Linked DNA regions of Homo sapiens: regions 2, 3 and 4 are each linked to region 1. The links are contacts of gene promoters, found by promoter capture Hi-C in blood cells and fetal thymus (Javierre and others, 2016). All regions are on one chromosome and are shown on one strand. The core of a region is centred on a gene start or on the middle of the fragment in contact, and the rest is flanking DNA. Distances in the headings are between cores, read along the strand shown.

What was found. Contacts are between HindIII fragments. The CHiCAGO score rates a contact against its expected background, and 5 or more counts as called.
Region 2: a fragment that was not itself captured here is called in contact with the fragment with the promoter of HTR2C in region 1 in 1 of 17 cell types (M0 macrophages); the score reaches 6.0 in M0 macrophages.
Region 3: a contact is called between a fragment that was not itself captured here and the fragment with the promoter of HTR2C in region 1, in 3 of 17 cell types (megakaryocytes, monocytes and M0 macrophages). The highest score is 7.7, in megakaryocytes.
Region 4: a contact is called between a fragment that was not itself captured here and the fragment with the promoter of HTR2C in region 1, in 4 of 17 cell types (monocytes, M0 macrophages, M1 macrophages and 1 more). The highest score is 9.0, in monocytes.

What each region holds. Positions count from the first base shown.
Region 1 is chrX:114,581,490-114,586,792 of GRCh38, forward strand. HTR2C (5-hydroxytryptamine receptor 2C) reads left to right here and starts at 2,597. Exons shown (of 6, transcript NM_000868.4): 1 at 2,597-3,170. RefSeq lists an enhancer at 2,097-2,596. The HindIII fragment of the contact is 1,634 bases long and covers 2,205-3,838 here.
Region 2 is chrX:113,912,625-113,917,927 of GRCh38, forward strand. No RefSeq gene overlaps it. Among named protein-coding and RNA genes, the nearest start is that of XACT, 300 kb to the left of the region's middle. The HindIII fragment of the contact is 7,940 bases long and covers 1-5,303 here.
Region 3 is chrX:113,934,262-113,939,564 of GRCh38, forward strand. LOC124905236 (a long non-coding RNA gene) reads right to left here. Exons shown (of 2, transcript XR_007068366.1): 2 at 1-4,059. Among named protein-coding and RNA genes, the nearest start is that of XACT, 320 kb to the left of the region's middle. The HindIII fragment of the contact is 3,967 bases long and covers 916-4,882 here.
Region 4 is chrX:113,972,372-113,977,674 of GRCh38, forward strand. It overlaps LOC102724491 (a long non-coding RNA gene), which reads left to right. Exons shown (of 3, transcript XR_430542.4): 2 at 3,285-3,426; 3 at 4,607-4,754. It also overlaps the pseudogene RN7SL93P. Among named protein-coding and RNA genes, the nearest start is that of XACT, 360 kb to the left of the region's middle. The HindIII fragment of the contact is 1,184 bases long and covers 2,669-3,852 here.

The sequences.
Region 1 (5,303 bases), core at 1,347-3,846:
TCTGGCAATGACAGAGCGACAGAAAGCGCCAGCATGTGCTTGTTTTGAGTTTGCTTCCCCAGTCCTAAAGTGCGCCCTAAATTTCTCCTTACACTAAATTCTCTGGTCTGGTGTTGCCAAAATCTCCAAAGTCCGTCGGACCTTGCAGCGCTCTGCCGAGCCGCAGCCTAGAGAACCTGAAGAGGCAGTACGCGCCGCAAATGCCAAGAAAGCAGAGCCTTCGGTCCCGGCGGAACCCGGTACCCCGAGCCTCGCCGCGGACCGCTCCGGCTCAGTCTTACAGGCTCTGGGCCGCTCGGCGAGCGCCGCTCAAAGGCTAACGTGCCTGCTTGTTTCTACCCGACCTCCGAAGCCCAGACGTGCTTCAGCAAGCCGCGTGGCTAGCAAACTTTCTCTCTGCTGCTGCGGGAACCTTCCCAACGACCACGTGGGTTTCACCCCTGGTCGCTCTCGGCACTTTTGCCTTTCACAAGGAGAAGGAGAGAACAGCCTTTAGAGCGAAATATATAATAATAAAAACTATTATTACCATCATCCTCATCCTCATAATTGCTATTATCATGGTCAATTTCTCCAAGCCGGTTCCCCCGGGAGCCGGGGAGCGAGAACAGGTTTTGGCGGATGCTAACTTCCACTCGCTGCTCGGCAGATCCATTTTGGCTTAGCAAAAATATCACAGGGATTTATATTTACATTTTTTGAAGTAATATAAATGTCTCAGCCTCTGACAAAATAAATACGAGTCCCGCCAGAAAAGGCAAGACTAAGCATTCCACATTCATAGAGTAAGGGGACACTTGGGGAGTTTTTAAAGATGAGTGCTTAATTATTTAAAGAGAAGACATACGTTTTCTCTTCCATATTTATAAATTACTGTTCGCTACCAAAGCATTTCTAAAGATGCGAGCGTTGTGCAGTCGGTGGACTTGGCAGCGCTGTCGCAGCCACCTGTGCGGCATCATACAGCAGCATTCAACAGATGCTTCAAGAAAACTGCGATGGGTTTTTGCTTTTCGAAACAGAACTTGGGTGCCGACAGTATGTTCACTGCCAAATTAAATTTCAAAGCCTGAATTCAGTGGCGATGGAGGGAATCAGAGGATTCCCAAAATGCCCCTTTTGGAATAGACTGGACAGCTCCTTTCACAAATATGGAAACAGAGGCACAGAGAGAAATGACTGTTCCTAGGGCATCCAGAATAAGGAAGGGGCCTGACCCTTATCATTGCTTCCACTTCCTTCTCCATCTCTAACTTTTGGGGCTACTGAGGCAAACTTCGGCCTTCAGAATAGCCGGCAGCTCCCACCCCTTTTGCGTTCTGCCGGGTTAGGTCCTCCAAGCCTCTCTCTGTACGGCCTCTCTGTAGCCTCTTCTATACACTCGCTGCGCTGCCGTCCGGTCCTAAGTAGCCAAACCGGAGGCTCGATCTTTTGCTTCGGTCCAGCTACCTCCGACAGGCGGGGAGCCAATCTCCACTTTTCCCACCCCGGTCCTCGGTACAGGGCCGAGAAACCTCGGCCGCGACCCGAGACCACCACCCCCGCTCGCCCCTTCGTTCCCTCTTAGGAGAGATCTGCTTCTGTCCCCATTCTCCGTGGGATCATCTCCATTACTCAGCTTGGTTTTGGTGCCTCTGAGCCAAGGGGGCCCCGTTCACCCTTCTCTGCGCTGCCGCCAGGACACCGCAGGCACCTGCCCGGTTGCGCCTGGGAGCCTGTGAAAAAGAGCTCTGCCTGACCGGTTAGAGCTCTGCCTGACCGGTTGCAGCTCGGCATCCCAGCAGTTGCCAAAAGAGAGCCTTTGTGGTTCACCTCTTGCTGCCTTGACCTTGCATTGACAGCACCCCTCCCTCCCCCACAACGACTGGGCAACCGACTGGCTGTGGGCCCAAGGCCCTGTGCCAGAGAGATATGTTCACCCCCTTGGAAACCCGTAAGAGCTGCCCTCAAGGTGTCTTTCTAATGAGGCCTGTGGGGTCAAGAAAGGAACTAAACTGTGCCTTCCCGGGGCTCGAAGGCCAAGAGCTTTTCTTTCTCCTTTGGGGTTAGGGAAAGGATGGGGAGACAAGGATGGGGAAGTGGGCCTTATAACAGGATTGTGGCCTTTGCGCACTCACCAAATGTTTGACCCTGTGAGTGCCTCAGTTGCTACTGTTGGAGGAATGGGCAAGAGTCGGAACAGAGACCCTTGAAGGGAGTTTCAAAGCTTGATGAAATTTGCAAGACTTGAGAATGCTGTTTGTTGAAATGAAATGTACAGGGGTGTGTGTGTGTGTGTGTGTGTGTGTTTGGGGAGGGGTATGCTATGAATCTTTGAGGGTACATTCTTGAGAAAGCCTTCCCTCTCTCTCTATCCGGTGCCATGGCTGATCCTGGTTCCCCCTACTCTCTAGGCCTTGTGAATCAGATTAATCATCACCCCCACCCCCATCTCCACCATGGGGTCTCGCGCCCCCTGCCAGCAGGCTCCAGATGCACTAAGAGACCGGTCCAAACAGGCCCGGGGGCCACGTAATGCTGAGTGCTGATTGGCTGCTCTTGGCTCCTCCCCTCATCCCGCTTTTGGCCCAAGAGCGTGGTGCAGATTCACCCGCGCGAGGTAGGCGCTCTGGTGCTTGCCGAGGACGCTTCCTTCCTCAGATGCACCGATCTTCCCGATACTGCCTTTGGAGCGGCTAGATTGCTAGCCTTGGCTGCTCCATTGGCCTGCCTTGCCCCTTACCTGCCGATTGCATATGAACTCTTCTTCTGTCTGTACATCGTTGTCGTCGGAGTCGTCGCGATCGTCGTGGCGCTCGTGTGATGGCCTTCGTCCGTTTAGAGTAGTGTAGTTAGTTAGGGGCCAACGAAGAAGAAAGAAGACGCGATTAGTGCAGAGATGCTGGAGGTGGTCAGTTACTAAGCTAGAGTAAGATAGCGGAGCGAAAAGAGCCAAACCTAGCCGGGGGGCGCACGGTCACCCAAAGGAGGTCGACTCGCCGGCGCTTCCTATCGCGCCGAGCTCCCTCCATTCCTCTCCCTCCGCCGAGGCGCGAGGTTGCGGCGCGCAGCGCAGCGCAGCTCAGCGCACCGACTGCCGCGGGCTCCGCTGGGCGATTGCAGCCGAGTCCGTTTCTCGTCTAGCTGCCGCCGCGGCGACCGCTGCCTGGTCTTCCTCCCGGACGCTAGTGGTAAGTTGGAGCCCCGGGCGGCATTGCTAGCCGAGACCCCAACGATTTAGGCGGGGGATGGGGTGGGGAGCGGGGACAGGTCCCGGATGGCTGCAGCCTGCAGGACCGCACTGGCCCTAGCGGAGGTTGGGGGGAGGGACTCTGAACGCGCAAATCGCGAGGAGACTGAGTCTCTGGAAGAAGAGAGGAGCTTAGGTTCCACGGAAGGAGCATAGAAGTCTCTAAGGGGATTGGGAGCGGGGGCTCGAGATGAAGACGCTGGGCGGAGGCGGGGGTCTAGAGAACCTGGCGCGGGGGAAGCCGAGACAGAAACGGAAGGCGGGGGTGGGGTCTCAAGAAGTGAGGAGTGGGAGGAGAGAAAGGAGGGAAACTGAACGCAATGTCGCTGAGTAGAGGGTCGGGCTGCGGAAGATGCAACTGAGTTGCAGGACCGACTACAATTTTAAGAAATCCGACAGCAGGCAAGTGGGAGGGGGCGCAAGGTTTGGGACAGTGTGTGCAGAGGGGGAACCAAGGATCCTTTATTATGTTCTCATTGAAAAGCGACCCTAATTTTTCTGGCGGGTCTCAGCGAACATCCGTAACTCTGGGGAGATAACACACTGCGGATCTGTGTTTGGTCTAACAGCTGTTAGCTGAATTTGAACAGCGCTGCTGGTGATCACGTAAGCTTAAGAGGAGAGGATAAAGGCATCCAGTGAACCTTTTTTTAAATAATTAATTAGCTTATCTAAGTCATTTGGTTACTGTTCTATATTTTGAAAAGGATTGCGAAAAAGTCTCCAGCGCTGCCTCTTATTCCTGTACTCAGTTTTACCTGACAAGCAGTCTTTACAGCGTTCCTCGGAATTGCTAAACATGAGAACAGGTTGCCGTTCCTGATGTCACATAAAGTTCGTCATTGCAAAACGTGTCTGTGTGTCTGTTTCTTTTCTGCGCCATGCCCTTTGCCTTTTGCTTCCTGTTGGGTAGTATGCGACTTGAGGTGACAAACACTTGCATTGTGTTTGAGAACCCTGTATTTTAAGCAACAGAGCTCCCCAACTCATAATTCAGCGAGTGACATTCGGCAGTTAAAAGATTTGGTCTGGAATCACTGCCAGTACCGCGCAGCTTCTTCATTAATATTACCAGTATAAGTCCCATCCAAGGAAGCCTCTGATTGCTGAGCCACTAAGTGCATATGCCCCTTACCTCATACCTTTTAGGCAGGCTAACCGAGGGACGCTCATATATGGTTGAGCTAAGATGATTTGGGGGGCGGGGGGTGAGGAAATGCGGCGCACTGAGTAACCTCTGAGCTCCCCAGTTTGCAGACAATTGCGACCTCACATACACGGTAATGAAAAAAGATATCTGGGCTCCAGAGTTTAAATTTTTCATGAAGAAGTTTACGTACATATCAGCCATTCTGACAATCAAAATATGAGTGCAATAGAAACAAGGTGTTACTGTGTAGTTGGCTACATATGTGTAGAGACAATGACAAAGGCCAACTGACATGCCCCACAGAAAATGATATCTACCGTGATCATTGCATCTCTTTTGCAGTACTGAAATCATACTGAATATTGTCTGTTCTGAAGAGTATAATCTCCTTAGCACCTGGCTGTTTGGGAATCATCTACAATGCCCCCCCATTCCACCCCACAGGTGGGGGGAAATAAATAATTTTGTCCATATTTTGGGGAGGTAGGTTATAGAATATTTAATTATATTTTTCATTCCTTAAATAAATTCTCCTGATCCTCCTGGGGAGGGAAGAAAATATTTGTTTCATCAACATGATTTCTTTCCTAATAGCGTCTATCATCTACAGCAACAAGCCCAACGCAAGTCCTGAAATTCGGAAGGTGGATAAGGCTTGTTGATTGCAATGTCAAGGTAGGATTTGGGGTGCTTTAGCAAAAATGACGGTGTTTTTCTATCTGCATTATCTAGAGAGGGTTATTAACCCTTTCTATGCTTTCTTGAGGGGTTTATCTCCATCTAGAGGTGTCATGGATGACAGTGATGACTTTTTCAGATAATGTAACAGGCTTTTGTGCAGTATGAATTCATCAGAAAAGAGGTGAGAACTGATATTTCTGGGAACCTCCTGGATGCCAGACGTGGATCCAGGACTATTACATA
Region 2 (5,303 bases), core at 1,434-3,933, 670 kb before region 1:
AACCAGGTATCAACAAAGTTAAAGTAAGTAGAATTCCAGTACACTTTTGGAGCTGTACAGAGAAGTTCTTTATCTCTATTATCCCTATTATATGGAATTCATCTCATCAGTCATATTAAGATTCTGTTCTAAAATTTGAAATGCTAAGTATAACTGCATCTCTCAGTGTCACAAATACTTTGAGGGCCTCGGTCTCTATACTCTTACAGAATAAAATTATATCCAATCAACATGTAGACTGATTCATAATAATGTTAGTTTTAATATCTAATGTGTATTGTGACTTCACAATTGGAAAGAGTGGAACTTTGCCCTATACATAATAAAAGACATGATTAATTGAAATTTAGTTCAAAACAATGCAGCTTAATTTAACTGTTCATTTCCCACCTATATACCCAATTATATTCTAGTAGAGACCCACACATCCACTGGGTCAGACATAACAGATGCAACAAATTATGGAATATTCATTCCTAAATTAGTGTTGGAACTCATTTAGGAAGAAGTTTGTCTTCATAAACTGCTATTTGATTGACTAGAAATGTATAATAAAAGCATTATAAATGTGACTCGTTCTTTACTGCTGAATGTATGATGGACTTCACAAATTAAAATCCATATGCATTATTCTAGTTGTCAATTCTTTTTTTTTTTTTTTTGAGACAGAGTCTCACTCTGTCGTCCAGGCTGGATTACAGTGGCACGATCTCACCTCACTGCAACCTCCACCTCCCAGGTTCAAGCGATTCTCCTGCCTCAGCCTCCCAAGTAGCTGGGATTATAGGCACGTACCACCACGCCCAGCTAATTTTTGTATTTTTAGTAGAGACGGAGTTTTGTCATGTTGGCCAGGCTGGTCTCAAATTCCTGAACTCCGGTGATCCACCTATCTCAGCCTACCCAAAGTGCTGGGATTACAGGCATGAGCCACCACGCCCGGCCTAGGTGTCAATTGTTTTAAAATAAAATGCTATGGGAGCTTAAAGAGATCATCCAAATTAATTACTACAACCAAGTTTCCCTTATAGAACTCTAAATCTTAGATATGAATTATTTGGGTATTACACCTGACTGCACCAAGTGTGTTATGTGCGTGCTTATGATAATTAAATCCAGAAGTAATTGCCCAGGATTTTATTCAGCCATAATTGCAAGTAACCAAGGGCAGAACCTTGCAGAATCATAATCTGTGGGAGATGTTTTGACACAGAATGACCAAATAAGATACTTTAACAACATAATAGTGTATCTCATAGAAAATAGAGCTGGTGATCCTTGCATCAGAATCAATGGAGAGGAGGAAAAAAACAAACAAACAGAAAAACCAAAAAAACATTGAAAAAGAAGTTGAAAAGAAAAATGACATCATGTGCAGTGGTCTTTTTGCAGGGAGGGATAGACTGTGATCTTTAAGAGCTAAACCAATTAGTATGAAAGGAACTCACAGGGAGCAAGACTGTCACTTTGTCAATCTTAATAATCTTTATTGATTAAATGTGACTGTCACTGACAGTCAAGACAATGTGTCTTTATACAATGGAGCAGAACAAAGCAGAACTTTGACCAGTCAATTTAAGATTCCTCAGGCCCTTTGGGAGAAAAATAGTGTATTCCATTGTAGATTCTGGTTATTTGGAAAATAGTAAGGATTAGATGCAGAATTAATCTGCATCTGGCAGGCACAGGGAGGAAGGAAACTTTCAAAACAATTAAATATTGCTCTTACTATGACCTTTTACAGCCTACCATCTTGTGGGGCCTCCAGGGAATTAAGGTTGCAAGGAATATTCACAATAAAAACTGAAATTTACAAAAGTATTGGTATGGGCCCTAGAGAAAGCCAAAAAACTAATGCAATAATTTACTTCTATTCACTCAATCTTTGTACTTGCTATGCCTTCTACCTAAAACTTTTTCCCTCCCATGACTCCCTCTCTCATTTCATTCAGGTCTCTGCTCAAATATCAATTCAAGCGAGTCCTCTCAGCCCCTCCTTGTGATTATTCTCTTATAGTAAATACTTACAATTTCATATTGCCTTGGCATCCATTCTGAATATAAGTTAGATTTTATCATACCAGAAGCCGGGCTTAGTCGCCCTTGACAATTTCCAGCTCTCCGCCTCCTCTCAGTTCCAGTGTTATCAATCCAAATATCTGTTCTATATAGCTGCCTCCTGGTGACCACTTCCCTATGGGACATATAGAATAACAACCTACTGCACTCACCCCACTCATCCCACATCCCGTATAGACTGCACGGATCTGCCACAGTGACTATGTCTCAGTCACTATCTCTCTGTGACCCCACAGAATTTGTGCCTGCTTGCTTTAAACTCACCAATTAGAACTCTCTTCAGAAAACCAAGGGCAAGGGTAATACCCTTGACCCCAATAAAGGCCTCTGCCCACAGTGATAGAGGCAGACAAATGCCTAGACAGATAGGGGCGGGTCCCTAGCAAAACACCATCTCCAAGTCGAAGACAGTTTATAGCCTGAAAGCCAAGCTACAGATTAAATCGTCAGACTGAATTGAGAACTTGTCTTCCTGTTTGGCATGCTTTCCTCTGATTGGTCCCCACCTTTCGCCTATTTTACATATACCTACCCTTTCCTATTGGTTTTTCTACACTGTCATGCCCACCTTTGTGTGCTGTCTTCGCTTTAACCTTTTTTGCATACTCAAAACTAATCAGCACACTTTCCCCATTCTGAGTCCATAAAGGGCCCCAGACCCAGCCACATGGGGGAACCATTGCCCTCCCCACCTCCCCTCCCCTCCCCTCCCCTCCCCTGCCCTCCCCTCTCCATTGAAAGCCATTTTCATTGCTCAATAAAATTCTCCGCCCTCCTCACTCTCCAATGTCCCACATATCCTCATTCTTCTTGGGCATGGTAAAAGAGCTCAGGAACTCCAAATGCAAGTACAAGCTATAACGCAGGCGAGCTGGGGCATGCCAGCATGGCCGAGAGAGGCCCAGGTGGGGCATCACCACCTGGGGGTCCCTGGCTTGCAAAGTGACCAACAAGAAAAATCCTGCATCAACGGGTTCTCCTCTAACTGGCTCCATATTTCCTGGTTGAGCACAGTGCCCTCTTTACCTTCCAGTCGACCTTCATCAATACCTCTCTTCTCTTGTGGACCTGTAACTGATGCACTGCCTCTGTCTTTTCATTGTTTTGTTGTGCTGTCTCCTCTGTGTCTTACCTGACCCACACACCCACACCTAACTTCTCTCCCAGTCAGAGCTCTCCTAGAGAGTGGCTATCTTGGAAGAATAAACTAGACACAGGTCAGACAAGAGCCACAAGGGCATCTGCCAGTATAAACAAGTTTTCTGTGAGAGGGACACTCGGTCACAGGTCAGACACTTAGGCATTAGCTGTCAGTCAGGATAAAGAAATATCCTGTGAAAGGCACACTGTAAATAACCATGACCAAATCCCCTGGAACCCCATCAGGGCAAGGCTAGAGTTTATAGCCACTCTCCTAAGAAAGACCTCAAGACCAAATTAGAAAATAAAATAACCTCTATATTCTTTTATCCTGCTTTATTTTATATTTTTTCCATAGGGAATTCCACTATTAGACATTGTATTACATGCTTGTTTATTTGTTTATGTTCTGTCTCCCCCACTATCATGTAAGTTCCTTGAGAGCAAAGAATTTATTTTATTAATCTTTATAACCTCATTGCCTAGAATATGCCTTGCATATAGTAGGTTCTCAATAATCATTGGTGCAAAAAATTAATTTAGAGTTTAATATATTAGTTGATCAGATTCTTTCAGTGTAACATACCGTAATTGAACTCCATTTGTATGAGACACAGAATGGGTAAATTTTCATGGGCTGAAAATAGAGAGAAAGGACCTAACCATGAGGTTAATGTCCACATCAGGATAATCAGGGTGGAATACCACAGTATGGATCTTTGGATATTTGGGGGCCCGTGTGAAGGAACTTAAGATTATGATGGAGAATGATAATAAAGAGATGAGTTATAATGGAGATAATGGTAAGGATATATTTTCAAGAAAGCAGTCTGGAGGCAGAGGATCATGAATAAATACAGGTAAATGAAACAAAGAGAAGAAAACAGCAGGACCAAGCATAGGTAAATAGGGCACTCCAGTTTCATACTTGAGTTGTCACAAGGGTCCTGCCTACTTAGTGTGTAGCATTGTCATAGCTTGAGCAATGCTGTTCTCAATAGGGCACTATTTTAACAGTGTTGTGTAGGTCCCAGGAATATCTGAACCCCCTTGCAGAACAGATTAAAGCTAACCATAATCGATGGAGCTTTCTCTTCAGTTGCAAGGGCCTAACTCACAAGAGTATTGATTGCAGTAGACTAGAAAAAGGGTTTCCCATGGACACCCTGGCTGATATTTTCTTGCACAAATAGTGTTTGGGCCTGAAACATAAGGTAAAGAAAGACAATGCCTGAGGAACAATACCAACCCACAGTAATAATATGCCATGCCACCCATCACTTTTTTACTGGGACTCTGATCTGTGCCTATAGACTTGAGTGCATGCAAACTAGTGCCCAGCTAGGCCTAGTGGTGGGGAGCCTCCTTACTCTGATGTTGCTTTTATTTTATTATTATTATTATTATTTTTTGGAGACAGAGTCTCATTCTGTCGCCACACTGGAGTGTGGTGGGGTGATCTCGGCTCACTGCAACCTCCGCCTCTCAGGTTCAAGCAATTCTCTTGCCTCAGCCTCCTGAGTAGCTGGGATTACAGGCGCACGCCACCACGCCTGGCTAATTTTTGTATTTTTAGTAGAAACAGGGTTTCACTACTTTTGGCCAGACTGATCTCAAACTCCTGACCTCAGGCGATCTGCCCACCTCAGCCTCCCAAAGTGCTGGGATTATAGGTGTGAGCCACCACGCCCAGCCTCATTGAGTTTCAAAGTTTATCTTTCATTTTGGGAAGTGACTCCTTTATTTATTTATTTATTGTCGTAGGTCTTTAAATATTAAATTCCAATCTCAGTCCAATAAAGCTACACTTTAAAAAAAGAAAAATGAATTAAGTACCAAATAGTACAAGATTTTGATGTGTGATGCTATCTTTTAAAATTTTTATCTCGAGATAATTATGAGTTACGGGAAGTTGAAAAAAAAAATGTACAGGGAGCTCCCATGCACCATTCATCCAGTTTTCCTCAATGGTAACATTTTGCTTAAGTATAATATCAAAACAAGGAAAATGGGTAATGCTACTTTAAGACGATTTTGCTCCTCCACCCTAGCTGTTTTAGTATGAGAAGCTGAGACGAATTAGG
Region 3 (5,303 bases), core at 1,649-4,148, 650 kb before region 1:
CCATCTGTTTTACTGGAATTTGCTATTCTGCAGAGTTTACCCAAGTTTGCATGAAATATATAAATTTGTACTTTGCAAAATCCTACTGAGTTTTGAAAATCTAAGCCAAAAGCCTTTTTATTTTTATTCTTTTAACTTAAAACTTTACAAAAACATATGCTTCACTTAAAATTTAGTCCTTCTGATTTTGTGAAAGCAAGAATATTTTAGGTGCATATTTTTATTTTTCAACATTTTTCCTCATTTATTATAATAAAAATATTGAGTTGAGGAAAAATATGGTTTATTAACTACTGACAAACATCTCAAGCAAATTATATGCTGGAAGTAGAGTAATAAAGTTAGGTTTTCTTTTTCAAAATATCTGGCAGAATTCTAAACTCATAAAAGATCTTAACTGGGCTACCATAAAATGGCCTGCAATGGATTCTAGTGAAATCTAATAAGATACTCAGTTACTAGCTTCATTAAAACACAGTGTGTTCATTATAACCCAATCTGGCAGAAACTCTCATTACTCTGGGTTTGTATTACCTCATGTAATTCTGCTTTTTAAAGTTCTTTTCTTTCCCCTCTCATCCAAACCCCACCACACCCTTGGTGTTACATTATAGCCAATTAACATACTTTAACTGTTTGTAATATATCATGTTTTTATTACTATTCTAAAGGAGTTTGTGTTTTTTCATTTTCTTCATTAGATCATTCAAGTAAGTCTCAAAGACTTGAAATGTTATACTTGATTATATTCAGAGTTTTGAAAAACATGCTGCTCTAAGACTATGAGGTACTACCATTTTGAATCATTATGCCCTCTCTGTGATAAGAATATGATCCAATGCTATGCTATTCTCTGAATTAATCATAAAAATGATGTAAGAGGCTTATATAAAAAAACATATGTAATAGACTGTAAGCTTCTTGAGAGTACAGTTATGAGTATATTTCCATAGCAGCTAACATTTATCAGGTGCTTACAACATGTCAGCTACTGGGCTAAGTTGGATTTTTTATCTCACTTAAGATGACAGCTGAACGATATCTCTATTATGCATTCTTCCTCATTTTACAAATGGAAATAAATGAGACCCTGAGGAGCTAACCACTAGCTCAAGGTCACAAACCCAGTAGGTAATGGAAGGAGAAATCCAATCCAGTTATAACTCCAAAATCACCACTCTCTCCACTTTATTGAACTGCTTTGGGTCTTTGTTTCTAAAGAGCCCAGGACAGTGCTTGGCATTGAGTTGGCATTCAAATATTTGTTGACTTTAATGTTGATGGTGCTAATGAGTCACCGACAAATTGTTGCAATTCAACGTTGTTTTATTTCAATGTTGTTCTTTTCAACAGCCACTTTTAGTTGAATTTAACTATTGTTTTATTTTGTTTATTGTCAAAATGATGTATGAGTAGACATAGCTCAAAGGGGACTGAAAAGTAAACATTTACCATAGCTACAGAGAAGCCAGTCAGGAAGTCAGGGTGTTAAAATGGAATTTGGCAAATAAAGGAAGCTGACAGAATAAGGAAGCAAATAAGAGAAAACAAAACAAACAAAAACTCAAGAAATAAATACAAATGCCTGCACTTCCTCTTCTATTCCCTATTTATTGCATTTGATCCCACCATCATGCCCCATTATACAAGCTAGAAACCTAGGAGGCATCTATGATTTCTCCTTTTTCTGTACCTTCTTTAACCTATTTAATCACTTACCTATTCTAAATACTGTGTATACTTTTATAATCTGTCCCCTCCTTTTCTCTCCTGCAATCACTGCCTGTTTTGTTTCTTACCCAAATTAAAACCTTTCTAACTAATCTCCCAGCCTTCGGTCTCTTCTCCTCCTTAGGTCCTTTGTCCACACGGTTACAAGAATGACATCTAAAATTCAAAACTTATGATGTCACTCACTCACATCTTTTAAACTCTTTAGTGGCTCTTCACCAACTCAGAATAAAGCTAAAGCTATTCTACCTTTCTTTTTAAGCCATTTCTATGTGTTGCAGATGAGTGAAAACAATTTGGATAATACAGCAAATGCCAAGTTGTGTTTTGTTTTGTTTTGTTTTTGTAAATATTGTAGCATCTGGTGGTAAAAGATATGTGAAAACTACATGTTCTCTCTCCCAAATCTTGGCTATTAGATAGTAGTTACAACAAAATAAAGTATCAAGTTAAATTACATACAATGCACAAATGTTCATTAGAAAGGAGGCAAAAAAAAAAAAAAACTATATAATCTATTCGATAGCTCTGGGAGATCCCACTCTCTGACCTAAACCCAAAGACTAGTACTTTACATGAAAAGCACATTTTCAAGAAGGCGCAATGTAGGAGTCACTGGTAGGACTAGGGTGCTCTACAGTCAGACTGGGCAGCAGAAGACTGAGAAATTTAGGTACATAAGACCAACGTGGCTCTAGACTCCTAGCTTTTGCTGAACTCTAAAACCTCCTTCATGCAGGAGCAAGTGGGTCTTATACATCATTTCTAACAATTGCCTACCTTAAACACCATTCATTTCAATAACAAAAATTTATTTCTTATGTTCCTGAAGACAAGTAGACCCTGTGGTGTAGCTTTTGTTAAAGATGACCAATGTTTTCTTTTTCTTTTCTGTTTTTTTTTTTTTGAGACGGAGTCTCGCTCTGTCGCCCAGGCTGGAGCGCAGTGGCGCGATCTCAGCTCACTGCAAGCTCCGCCTCCCGGGTTCACGCCATTCTCCTGCCTCAGCCTCCCCAGTAGCTGGGACTACAGGCACCCGCCACCACGCCCGGACAATTTTTTTGTATTTTTAGTAGAGATGGGGTTTCACCATGTTAGCCAGGATGGTCTTGATCTCCTGACCTTCGTGATCCACCCACCTCGGCCTCCCAAAGTGCTGGGATTACAGGCGTGAGCCACTGTGCCCGGCCGTTTTTTTGTTTTTTTTTAAGAGACAAGGTCTTACTCTCTCAACCCAGGCTAGAATGCAGTGGCGAGATCATAGCTCACTATAACCTCAAACTCCTGGGCACAAGCGATCTTCCCACCTTTGCTGAAAGTGGCATTTTCAACCTATTCAACCTTACATTTAAATATAAGAAGACATCCTTCTTGCCATGGTGTCAATCAGTGACCCAGACTTTCTAGCTCTACTTTGTGTAAACTCATTTAGATGGCATCCAAAGAACTGAGTTTTATAGTACTTACTTGGTATGCCATAGCTACTACAATCCTTATTTTGCTTATTTCATAGCTTAAGGTACTGAAAGCAATTATTCGACAGTATTATTATTATTAATTGATATTGATATTCTCCAGAATATTGTTTTTAATTGCAGAAATGAAAAACACTGCAAATATCCAATAATGGAAGTGTTAAGATAGATGCATAAGGTAGAATATTATACACCCATTAAATAACATGCTTTTATTTATTTTTAAGTTATTTTTATGTACTTATTTATTTTTTAGATACAGTATCTCACTTTGTCACCCAGGCTGGAGTGCAGTCATGTGGTCGTAGATCACTGTAGCCTTGAACTCCTGGGCTCAAGCGAACCTCCTGCCTCAGCCTCCTGAGCAGCTGAGACACAGGCACACACCACCATTCCCAGCTAATTTGTTTTAATTTTTTGACAGAGACAGAGTCTCACTATGTTGCCTAGGCTGGTCTCGAACTCCTAGCCTCAAGCCATTCTCTTGCCTTAGCTTTCCAAAAGCACCGGAATTACAGGCATGAGCCACCTTGCCCAGCCACATGATCAATGTTAAGTAATCAATCTTTAAGGTGATAATTCCTGATTATGGTATTCCATGTTATTCGACCATCACTGGAATGATGATTGCAATCAAAAGACTTCTAACACTATTTAATTGCCCGTATAACATACAACATACCCACTTTCATAATTTTCAGCTATAAAAACATCCAACTACTTACAGTTTCTTCATTGACTCATCCACAAATGTTTAATTGGTACTTCTTATATGTCAGTCACCATTCTACATGCTGCAAATGCAGCAATAAATGTGGCAGACAAAGCCTGTGTTCTCATGGTGTTTACATTCCTAAGGGGACACAGAATATATATATATATATATATAGTGAGGATAAGCTGTATACACCAATAGTCAGATTTCTTTTGATTGCAAGTAATAGAATCCCAAGCAAATTAATTTAGCACACACAAAAAAAAGATTTTTAATAGAAGGATAAAGAAAACCAAAAGGTAAGCTGCAAGAACAAGAAGAGTTTAGAAGATTCAGAAACTGGAACTAAAGATGTAGTTGCCCTAAGGACTCATTCTCTCTCCATCTTCCCCATCTCTTTTTTCAGTTGTTCTTTACACGCTGACTTCATTCCTTCCTGTAGTAAATGGTCTCTTTCCAGTTGGAAGGTAAAATGGCCACAGTGGTTCTCAACCAAAGGCAATTTTGACTCTCGGAAAACATTTGAACGTGTCTGGAGACATTTTCAGTTGTCATAACTGGGAAGATGCTACTGGCATCTAATGGATAGAGACAGAATGCTGCTAAATATCCTACGATGTTTGGGACAACCGCCTGCAACAAAGAATTATCTTGACCTGAATTTTAAGAGTTCCAATGTTGTGAATCCTTGCTCTAGGGGTGATTCAAATCTTACGTCATTCCAGCGTAAGAATCCCATAATAATCACTAGTGTATAACAAATATGACAGTAGCATATATAACACAACAATAATACCAACAATATTTAATAAGTATTTACTATGTGACAGGAAATATTATAAGTCCTTCCATGTATTAACACATTCGTCCTCACAACAGTACTATGATGTAGGTATTATTGTGATCTCCCTGTTTTACAAATAAGAAAACTGAGGTACAGAAAAGTTTAATAGCTTATCTAAGCTTACACAGCCATTAAGTAGTGGAAATTATATTTGAACCCAGGAAGTTTCACTCCAGAGTACATGGTCCTAAACTTTGTGACACCATTTTTCAATTGCTACTTTAGTATAATAAAACCCTAGGAAAAGAATCTGATTGATCTGGCTTGGGTCATATGCCATCCCTTGGATGAACTGCTCCAGCCAGGAGAATGCTATGTAATGATTGGCTTAGTCTGGGTCATATACCCACCCCTATAGTTAACTGGGCTGTGTAATATGCTTAACAGTTCTACCACATAGTTGGAGTGAGGGAAAAGTATACTGCTAAAACAAGAAAGAGGGCTGGGGCAGTGGCTCATGCCTGTAATCCCAGCACTTTAGGAGGCTGAAGTGGGTGGATCACCTGAGCTCAGGAGTTTGAGACCAGCCTGTGCAACA
Region 4 (5,303 bases), core at 2,011-4,510, 610 kb before region 1:
TCTTCAAATATTCTTTCTGTTCTTCGAAGCTTTCTCTTCTCCCTCAGGGACTTCAGTGTCTCACATATCTTTGAGACTACATTAATTTTCTTTATTATTTCTTCTTTCTGTTCTTTACTATAATCACAATGAACTATATTCAAATTTTCTTATTGTTTCCTTGACAGTTGCAATCTGCTATAGAACTCCTCTAGTGAATTTCTCATTTCAGTTATTGTGATTTTTAAACTACTGAGTTACTATTTGGTGCTTTTAAAAAATAATGTCTATCTCTTTGTTGACACTCTCTCTTTAGTGAGAAATCATTGCCATACACTCCTTTATTTTTTTAGACAAGATGTTTTTTAGTTACTTGAACATATTTATAATTGCCTATTTAAAATCTTTATATAATAAATCTGACATCTTGGCTTCCACCATGACATTTTCTATTGACTTTCTTTTTTTTTTTTCTTTGTATGGGCCATTCATTCCTGTTTCTTTGTATGTCTACTTTTTCTTTAAAATACTTGACATTTTAATATAACATTGTAAATCTTGAAATCAGAACTTCTTCTCCCAGGGTTTGTTGGTCTTGCTGTTAGCTGTTTTGTTGTTGTTGTTTATATTGTTATTGTTCCTCGTTTGCTGACTTTCTTGGACTGATACTGTAAAGTCTGTTTTCTTTGACATATGTAGCCACTAAAGTGTCTCCTTGGTTAGGTTAGTGATTAGCAAGACAGAGGTGTCCTTAAATGCCATGAACCAGTAATTCTCCCAGCCACTGCCAAGGATTTGGTATAGTTTTTAGACATGCCTCAAATATTCCTGTAATTAACAACTCTGTTATCCTTACTTTCAACTTCTTCAGAGGCTTAAGATTAGTCAGACTTAAATTAGCTGGGTGTGGTGGTGGGTACCTGTAATCCCAGCTACTCAGGAGGCTGAGGCAGGAGAATCACTTGAACCTGGGAGGCTGAGGTTGCAGTGAGCCAAGACCGTGCCACTGCACTCCAGCCTGAGCAACAGTGCAAGACTCTGTCTCAAAAAAAAAAAAAAAAGAAAAGAAAGAAAGAAAGAAAGAAAAGAAAAGAAAAAGATTAGTTAGACTTGAGCAAATAGGGCATTCTGAGGACTTTCTTGAGCCTACAGCCTTGCACACCTGTGTGGCCTTCTAGATTCTCAGAAATATGTTGACATTTTCAAAGATTGTTATGAATGTCTCATTCACCAGTTTTTCCTTTTAAGTTTTTAGTCAACCTCTTGTTAATTGCTTCAGGTAGCTGCAGTGTTAAACAACTACCACTTTTTGTGAGAAAATTTTTTAGGTATAGGCTTATTTGTACAGAGTGAGCTCTGATTCAGGTCCATTAAAGACAACCCTGAGAATAGAGCTATTTAGGGAGTTTCCAGACATTTCAAATAGTCACATTTCTCAGGGAATGGGTTTTGTGGAAGAACATGCCTGTTTCTGCTTCCTCTAGTGGTTGCTAAAATGCAAGTTTTCATGACTACTGCAGTAGTGAGGCTGTTGATTTCAAGACTCTCACAAATCTAGGGAGTGAAGAATAGTAATAGAGCGAGCTAACACATCACAGAGATTGCAGTTCTTACAGAAGTTTAGCTGTTTTTCTTGGAGAAATACTCCTTGCAATGTTGCAAGCCTTTGATTAATTTCCAGAGTTTTAGAAAGGTTTGTTTTGATGATTTTTTCCAATGTTCCGATTGCTTTTCAGAAGGAGAGGTTTTTGTAAAGCTACTTTTATTAGGACCTTTGACAGCTTTGACTTTTTGTTCATAGCTGCAGAACATTATGTCTTCTACAATATAGTAATACATTCTTCTAATAAATCATCTTTGCACAGTGTGAAGGGAACATTTCAATAGTTGAATATTTGGGGATATAAACAAAACTGTCTGTTATATCAAAAGTATAGCCTCATTTAATTTTTATTTTTCAGAAAGGTTTTGCTGCCTCCATAGATAGCATGTCTTTGGGAAATATAATTCCATGAGAATTTTGGTAGTGATAGTTCTCATTTCGCTCCCTCCCCGCAGTACGCATACACATTTATTCTTCCTCTCTGGATATTAGCCAGCAAGGCTAATTTTATTGCAAGGCCCTGTGGCATACTAGATACTTCTATTTCAAATGATATAGACAGTTACAGAATGTTTATCATAGTCTACTGAAGTTTGAATGATACATATTACAAATACAGTTGTTACACAGTCAGCATTCTTCAGACCAGATGGGTCTGACATGGAGGATCACAGAAAGTTAGAAAGATCGCCATTCTCAGATTTATTTCAGTTTGTGTCTTTTCCAAGGAAATTTCAATTTAGTATCTTTGAATGTAACCCAAGAGTAACTCTCAGGTTTGGTCTCTGAGTGAGGTGTTCCAATCTCACATTTTATAATACTAATTTCCTAAATAATTAGCAGTGGGAATGGTCATTATATTTTTCAAGTGATGCCTGCAGATTTAAAAATTAGGGTTTTAAAAATCTGTCTATTCCAGAGTCTGAATACCTTGGCATTTGGAGCAACATGAAAGAAACACTATCTTGCCTATAGCAAACAGATTTTTCAGCTTAGGTTCTGCATCTCTTGCCCTTTCAGTAGTTTATTGAGCTGTTCCAAGTTTACCACTGGTTAAATGGAGTACAAGAAAATAGCATTCATTAAAGCTTGCTTAATCCAAGGAAACTTGGCCTGAGAATGATCTTTGATAGGGCCATTGTTGTACTTCAAATTACATTTAAATTACTCTAAGACAGATATTCAAATGTAAAATGTAAAAAGCACAAGTGTCACAGAAACACTTCTTGGGATCTTTGGGGAGTTACTTATACCAATAATGCCTCTCTCAGCTGCATGAAAGGTACAATGATATAAAAATCTCAAGCTCTTGGTTACTTATGAAGGGCTTTACTATGTGGCCAGGAGTTGACAGACTAAATGTACACTGTTTGAAACTGTGTATATTTCTCTATAATTTTTAGTAGTTACCCATGAAAACAATGCCATTTAAATACCATTACTCTTGGCTATTGCTGCAACAGTAATTTTCAAAGAAGAGTATTATCCTGCACATATGGGTGATATTTTTCATTGTCCAATGACTGGGATACCATATTAGCAACTAGTGACTATTAGTCAGAGACACCAAAAAGTCCCACATAACAAAGACTTGTCACACTCAAAATTTTAATATGGTCCCCTTTAAGAAACAGTGAGAAATGGAATTGCACTTTAGTCATAATAGGCAATATCTTATGATGATGATGCACTTTTTTCATAGTTGCATTCCTCAAGATGACATCCATTGCAACAGGTCAGAATTCTTTATGAGTGCTGCATTATGGCCCACTTCACGCTTAAGAACAAACATGAGGATTTCAGAGCTGAATCAACGTTAGACTCTTAAAAAACAATTGTATCATGTAAGTATCTACTTTGTAGCTCCACCTTAAAAGCTATGGATGGCCTTTGTATAAATTTACTACTACTTGCCTATGGAAAGGACTCTATTACTGAATTAGAAGTTAGGTCTATGATGGAACAAGTGTGACCATTTAGCATTTAAGTCTAGTTGCATTTCTGCATTGATGCAGGCAGACCTTTCTTTGTCCGGATCTAGGATAGATTAACTGAGATCCTGACACTTTTAAAGGTCTGAAAAAAACATGTAAAACGTATTCTCCCTGAGGGCTGCTAACAGTGAGGTTTCATCTACATAACAAGACCACCTTTGCTAGCCAGACCTCTTCTTCTCCCCTTCCCATAACCTGTCTTGCCACCATCACCTGATTTACCAACATAACTGTTCTGAGCCCCTATTTTTTTCTCTAACCTCAAGATGGTGTTTAAGCTTCTGTATCCCATTGCAGAGTTGGTGTAATTACTTTGTGATTCTTCCATGTACATGTTAATAAATTTGTATGCCTTCCTTCCTATTAATATGCCTTTCTAAAAATTTTATTTATAAAGACACGGTCTCACTATGTTCCCCAGGCTCAATTACAGTGGCTATTCATGGGTACCATCTCACCACTGATTAGCAAGGGAGTTTTCATCTGCTCCACTTACAACCTGGGCCAGTTCATCCCTCCCTAGGTGACTTGATGGTCCCCTACTCCCTGGCAATTACGATATTGATGGCAAACAGTGTGGACACTCTATCAGCATAGTGCACTACAGCCTGTTACTGGACACAAGTGATTCTCCTGCCTTGGTCTCTGGAGTAGCTGGGACTATAAGCATGCCCACTGTACCTGGCTAATCTGCCTTTTGTCAGTTGATATTTCAGTGAATCTTCAGAGAGTGAAGGGAATGTTTTCCTTCCCCCGTATAGGGGTTAGGAGATCAGTATATGAATTTGGGATTATGAAAGGAAAATAAAATCTTGGGACCCCAAACACACTAAGCCAAAGGGAAAAGTCAAGCTTGGGAATTGAGTCATAGAAAATTGTCTCCCATTTTTATTCCTACAAAAATTAAAGGCCACATACTTCCCCAGGAAGCCTCCCTCACAATTTGCTCACAAGGAACTTCCTCATAGGTCGCAAGATATTTACCCTAAAACAGTTCTGTTGAATTTCATGCTGACAAGGTAATTAACAGCTTATCTTCACAGGTACGGGACAAAGACAAGACCATCACGGATAAAGACAGGAGCAGATTTAGTATATGTGCTGCCACCATAACGGATAAAGACAAGAACAGATTTTAGTATATGTGCTGCCATTTGAGACCAGCCTGGCCAACATTGTGAAACCCCGTCTCTACTGAAAACACAAAAATTAGCTAGGCGTGGCGGTACGCCCCTGTGATCCCAGCTACTTGAGAGGCTGAGGCAGGAGAATCGCTTGAACCTGGGAGGCGAAGGTTGCAGTGAGCTGAGATCGCACCACTGCACTCCAGCCTGGGTGACAGAGCAAGACTCCATCTCAAAATAAATAAATAAATAAATAAATAAATAAATAAATAAATAAATAAATAAAATAAAATAAAATAAAATAAAATAAAATAAAATAAAATAAAAACAAATAAATAAAGGCAAGACCAGAAGCCATACTCCACCCAACTGAGACAAATGCGTATTAATGCAGATTCACTGAGCACAGGCCAGTGCATAATTGACTGTTCTTCTATCCCCTCCTTTTACATATAAAATGTAGATTCAGTGAACACTGATGAAAGCCTCAGAAGAATGGAACCACCTGCAGCTTTATCTACCCTACCCCAACATTTTGTTTCTTTCTTGGTTCTCCTACTGCCCACCCTTTCCCCTTGAAATACTGGAGTCCCCAAGCCCCCT